Regions from separate parts of the Homo sapiens genome. Here region 2 is linked to region 1. The links are contacts of gene promoters, found by promoter capture Hi-C in blood cells and fetal thymus (Javierre and others, 2016). All regions are on one chromosome and are shown on one strand. Each heading gives the region's core, a stretch centred on a gene start or on the middle of the fragment in contact. The rest is flanking DNA. Distances are from core to core; before and after follow the strand shown.

What was found. Contacts are between HindIII fragments. The CHiCAGO score rates a contact against its expected background, and 5 or more counts as called.
Region 2: a fragment that was not itself captured here is called in contact with the fragment with the promoter of ATP1A1-AS1 in region 1 in 3 of 17 cell types (total CD8 T cells, naive B cells and total B cells); the score reaches 5.4 in total CD8 T cells.

The regions. Positions count from the first base shown.
Region 1 is chr1:116,416,987-116,420,007 of GRCh38, forward strand. ATP1A1-AS1 (ATP1A1 antisense RNA 1) reads right to left here and starts at 1,636. Exons shown (of 3, transcript NR_027646.1): 1 at 1,473-1,636. RefSeq lists an enhancer at 1,461-1,755 and a silencer at 1,715-1,844. The HindIII fragment of the contact is 1,476 bases long and covers 766-2,241 here.
Region 2 is chr1:116,365,605-116,368,625 of GRCh38, forward strand. No RefSeq gene overlaps it. Among named protein-coding and RNA genes, the nearest start is that of ATP1A1, 6.1 kb to the right of the region's middle. The HindIII fragment of the contact is 169 bases long and covers 1,545-1,713 here.

The DNA of each region.
Region 1 (3,021 bases), core at 386-2,885:
CAACCCAGATTCACTTTCTGGTTCTCTGCAGCTTACTAGCTGTGACCTTCAACAAGTCTCTCTTAACCTGAGTCTTAGCTTTCCAATATGTAAAATGGACACAGCATTGTGAGGGTGGTTGGGAGGATTAAATGAGATCAGAGAATTTAGCACCATGACTGTAAAGAGAAAGGGCTCTACAAATGTAGCTGGTACTACAATTCACTTTTTTTTTTTTGAGACAGGACCTGACTGTCACCCAGGCTGGAGTGCACTGGCATGATTACAGCTCACTGCAGCCTCGACCTGCCAGGCTCAAGCCATCCTCCCACCTCAGCCTCCAGAGTAACTGGGACTACAGGCATGCGCCACCACATCCTGCTAATTTTTATATTTTTTGTAGAGATGGGGTTTTTGCATGTTGCCAGGCTGATTTCAAACTTCTGAGCTCAAGCCATCTGCCTGCCTTGGCCTCCTAAAGTGTTGGGATTATAGGCAAATGAGCCACCACGCCAGCCCACAATTCACTTTAAACACAAGTGAAACACATTTCATTAGACAGTGGAATAGACTTATGTCAATTTTCTTTTCTCTCTTATTTTACACAGTCTGATTTCCTGAAGACAGGAGGCGGGAGTAAGCTAATCAGGCCCTGAGTTAGCTGTTTCCAAGAAGCTTAGAGTGTCCCACTTACCTACGGGTTGCAGGGCCCGCATTGCCAGTAGGGCTGGCTTTTAGGGATGCTGCTGTTGGTGTGTGCTGTACTTGTTTTCTAGGATTGGGACAAGCTTCCTTGAGCTCCTGACTTTAGAGACCAGGTTTGGGAACTGATGGGTGCAGCAAATGCAAACAGACAGCAAACAGGCCAAAGAGGAGATTCATTCACTGAAGAGGGCCCTGGTACAGTACTGTCGAGGTTTTGCGGTGGCCTGGACACGGCTGGCTCCTTCGACTTACACAATATATCTTCTCTCTCTCTTACCTGCACTTATAAGAATCGGTGCTAAGGGTATGTGCCTACCACAGTGCAGCTTGTAGATTAATGAAGAAAGAATTGCTGCCACTTCCCAAATATTAAACGCCAGGTTCTGCCTATGCATATTCTCTCAACCTTCACAACACACCTACTAACTCCAGCTTACAAATGAGGAGACGAACCAGCAGGCTGTTCCAGGCGTCTGGTTGTAAGAGCAGTGGCAGTAGAGAAAATGATTTATTTTAGCACCAGCCACTGTGCTAATCCCTTTAGATATCATCTCATTTAATCCTTTTAACAACCCTGAAGCACCATCCTTATTCTAAAGGGACTTCGGACCTCTCTGCGGTCCACACTGTCCCCTGCTCGGTGCAGGAGTGTAGACTGGGACTGTTCCGTCTGGTGGTCTCCCCGACAAGGGTTCACCTGGAAACTGGCCTTTGGGCTGGGATTGGGACTCTGTACTTAGGCTGGCAGCCCATATTAGGACTGGGCACCGTGATAAGCACTTTCTTACCGCAAATGCACGATTTCACTCGGCCCTCACACACCCCACGAGGTGGGCACCGTCACAGTGCCATCTCACAGGCAAGGAGGCCAGGCCCAGGCCCTGAGGATGCGCCGCTCAGGTGGGAGCTTCCGGGGAGCTCGCGCGACAGCCTGGGGGAGCGCGGATTCGTCTCTGCGCTACGGCGGCTGCAGAGGGTCAACCCGCGGAGGCGGCGCTTCGCGGCGGGTCCTCGGCCTGAGGCTGTGGGATGCCTCCAAACCCGGCGCGGCCTCCGTCTGCAAGGAGAGCAGAGGGTCCCCGCCGGGAGCGCGCCCGGCTGCGGCCCCAGGCGGCCCTGCCCGCAGCCGCCACCTGAGCTTGGGCGCGGCTCCTATCTCCCACCCGCGCGTCGGCCAGTGAAGGGCTCCGTGCTTAAACATCATTCGTTACAGAAGTATTGCGGCCATCACACGGCATTTTAAAAACACGAATGATGATAAATAACTTTAACACTGCTTCCAATTCTGCCTCCAAGCACAGCATCATTACCATTTGCATGCGTTTCACTTCATTCGATTTCCATGTGTATGGATTTGTTTCTACATAGCTGTGGTAAAACGCACATACTAAACTGAATCCAGGGTTGTTTTCCACTTTGTAACATGAACATTTTCACCGTGTTAGTACTGACGCTTCCTACCTATAATTTTTAATGGCAGGACTTTAAAAAATTGGGTTGATACGCTGTCACTTCTCTGAGCATCTCGCAAATGTTCAACATTCAAGTGGCTTCCAAAGCTTCACGATTATAAATTATTCATTCTTTTTTGTTTTGTTTGGTTGTTTGTTTGTTTGTTTGTTTGTTTTTTGAGACGATGTCTCGCTCTTGTCGCCCAGGCTGGAGTGCAGTGGCGCGATCTCAGCTCACTGCAACCTTCGCCTTCCAGGTTCAAGAGATTCTCCTGCCTCAGCCTCCTGAGTAGCTGAGATTACGGGCATCTGCCACCACGCCCACCTAATTTTTGTACTTTCAGTAGAGACGGGGTTTCATCATGTTGGCCAGGCTGGTCTCGAACTTCTGACCTCAGGTGCTTCTCCCTCGACCCGGCCTCGGCCTCCCAAAGTGCTGGGATTACAGCACTTTGCTGCCCAGCCCATTCTTGTGTATAAAGTCCTTTCAGTATTGAGATCAGTTTCCTTAGGTTATATTCACAGGAGTGAAACTGCTAAGTCAGAATGTGAGCATTTAAAAGCTTTCAGTATTATTGCCAAATGGCTTTTCACAGATGACTCAGGGAGGTTTTGGTACTTGGAACACTGCTACTTATATCCCACTCCCCCCCCCCCCCACCAGGAAAACATCTAAAGTGCACTTTTTTTTTTTTTTTTTTTTTTTTTGTGAGACGGTATCTCGCTCTGTCGCCCAGGCTGGAGTGCAGTGGCGCGATCTCCGTTCACTGCAAGCTCCGCCTCCCAGGTTCACGCCATTCTCCTGCCTCAGCCTCCTGAGTAGCTGGGACTACAGGCGCCCGCCACCACGCCCGGCTAATTTTTGTGTTTTTAGTAGAGACGGGGT
Region 2 (3,021 bases), core at 379-2,878, 51 kb before region 1:
ATTGAGCTTGAGCACTTCTGGTTTATGAGATTAGAGGCAGGGGAGGGAACTGGGTCCCTGGCCTCTGCCAGCTCCCTGCAGCTCCAGCCTGCAGCACTGTATCTGCCTGACTCGGCTGCTTATTCCTGGAGCAGGAGTGACGGTCCTGAAACTCAGCCTCCTCTTGGGTTTGTTCTTAGGAAGCTAGAATAACTCTCTCTCACTAATTAGTGATTGCATTAGCAGATGGTATCTTTTTTTTTTTTTTAAGTAAAAAGGAAAAAGAAGAAAAGGTTTTAAAGGTTTTAAATTGCATTTAGAGACAATGCTTTCTTTCTCCTGAGGAAGCCCGTGCAGTCTAGATCCTGGATATTCAGGCTTCTTATTCTGAAGGTGAAAATCAATCAGCTGGGCTACGGCTCTGACGTTTTAGTGGACTTATTTTCCTGGTCCTCGCCTGAAGTTTGGTAATAACCAGACCAGTTCAGACAGGTGGAGTGCTGACTGACCTCTACCACCCAACTGGGTGCACTTGGCTGGCTGTGTCTCAGTAGACTGGTTCTTTGTTGGATAAAGGAGATTGACGTGGGAAAAGGTGAGCCAGCATAAAGTAAATTCTGTTCTCATTCTCTCCTCCTGTAGACAAATTTTGTAGCTGCCTTCATTCTTCCTTGGACCTTATATCTCCCAGGCTAAGTAGGAATTTGGAATCAAGACGAGATAATTGCTTACCCTCTTTGAACAGTTACTACATGGCAGGCAATGTTCTAGTGCTTTAAGTATATCATGTCAATTGTTTCTCATAGCAGCCCACTGGTAGAGTTACTAAGTTAGATAGTTTTTCTAGATAAAAAGCTTCATGCTTACATACATTGTTTGAAGAAGGTATTTGGTTAGAATCCTGTCATGTGATCAGCTATTTTGGGTCCACCACCTCCATCACCACCATCCCATTACCTCCTACCATCACTTTCATTACCACCACCACCATCTCTGTCTCCACTGTTAACTCTTAACACTGTGTCCATGACCAGACGTCAAATGTTAACAGGGACTTGTCAAAAAAGCAAAAAGCTGAGATGTGTTAGGCAGGGACATCTTTAACTTGAGCTATTTGGACAACTTTTTTTTTTTTTTTTTTTTTTTTTTTTTTGAGGTAGGTCCCACTATATCACTCAGGCTGGTCTTGAATCATTGGTCTCAAGTGACCCTCTCACCTCAGTATTTGGACAATTGAAGCTAAATTTTTCATTAACTTGGTTTCTTCCTTCTTTTCTTTATCTTCTATAATTTCGGTCTTCAAATGTGAGATTGCTTACCAGGCAGCTTAACATTTCTTTAGTCAGTGGAGTTGCATCAAGCACTGGACTCTGAGAGAACTGGAAACCAACAAAGTCCTTGGCCTATTTGGAATTCACCTTAGCAAAAAACACTAGGAAATCAGATAAAATGCCTGAGCCATCCCCGCAAATTGAACTATCTTCTGAGGGCTAGGGAGTTGTATGTTGACCAATTGTTAAAATTATGTCCTAATTCCAGTTTTTCATCATATCCAGCAATTCAAAAGCTTCTGTTCAAGAGAAGTAGTAGATAATAGGGATGGTAATGGGAGTTAAGGCATGCTGCCTGTGTGTGCACAAGAAAAGGAAGAAAATAAAATTAGCATACTATGACAAAAATATACAAGGAGATATAGGTATCTTGAGATTCTGAATTCAATAATGTGATCAGAGAAGCTTTCATAAATGTGCTGGCTATGAAGGCATATCTACTGGAGAAATCTTTCCAAAGCACAAATCTGATCATGCCCTGCCCCTGCTTAGAACCCCACAGTGTCTCCCTATGGCCCATAGGATAAAGTCCAAGCCCTTTGATGGCATCCAAGTCCTCCACAATCTGGACTCTGCTCACCTCTCCAAGCTTACTTCCTGCCGCCATTCCTCTCACAACCTAGGCTCTCGCCATTTTAATCTTCTGGCCAGTCCTCCAACACTCAGTTTGTTTCTGTCCTGAAGACCTTACCCATGTGCTACTTTTGCTTGCATCCTCCTGGTCCTGCCTAACATGCTGCCATTCCGTGAACTCCTAACCATCTTTCACAATCCCAGCCAGGGAAGCCTTTCCCACTCTGCAGACAGAGCTGGCCACTTCCTCCTTCATGCCCCCATGAAGGCCTGCATATATGCAGCACCTCTCACTGTGTTACTAATATCTCTTTGCATGTCTTTTTTTTATGCCAGATGGTGAGCTATTTGAGGGTAGAGAATGTGTCTTAGTTATCTTTATACAACAGCAACAAGCACTGTGCTAGGCTCAGAGTAGATATTCAATAATGTTTATTCTGATTTTTTGCATGAACTAGTTCTTACTTCTGTTAAATACTATACACTACCAGAGTTAAGGATTGGAGTATGCTCTTTATAAGAGGGGGAAAAAAGGGGGAACCCTTCTTAGGGGCTTATTTGTAAGAGTCCACATGTAGAGGTCACCATCGCCAAAATGGAAGCCTCCAGAGTAAAACATAAGCTGTTAAAAATGAATTGAGCTGGTTACTATTTTTGCACCTGACCTACTTTTTGGTTACTTCTGCTGTTGCAAAAACTTCCATTCTTATAAATGAACCAAACCACTTTTTGATGGTTTTGTATTCTCTCCTCTTAAGGTAGCTTTTTACTGAAACAAAAATCTGCACAGTCTCTGAAACCCAGCTTTAATGCAAAGGCATCTATGGAAGAGTATTATTCCCAGTAGGACCAACTTCCAAAGAACTCTCTCAATTGTTTTTCCATGGAAGAGTTTAAGGCCAAGAATAGCAAATCTATCCACCACGATGATGGCACTTATTTCCTTAGTGCTTGTGGTTGTGCCCCCTGGAGAGCAGGAAGGGTTAGATGCCAGTTACCTCCCGCCACCTCTTCCCAGCTTTGGGCTTGCCCTTTCTGAGCTGTAAGGCTGCCTGAAGCTGTGTCTCTGCTGGTTGGATGAAGATGGGACTCTGGCAGTGGAATATTTTTCAGTCCAGATCCCTTCTTTGTTACCATT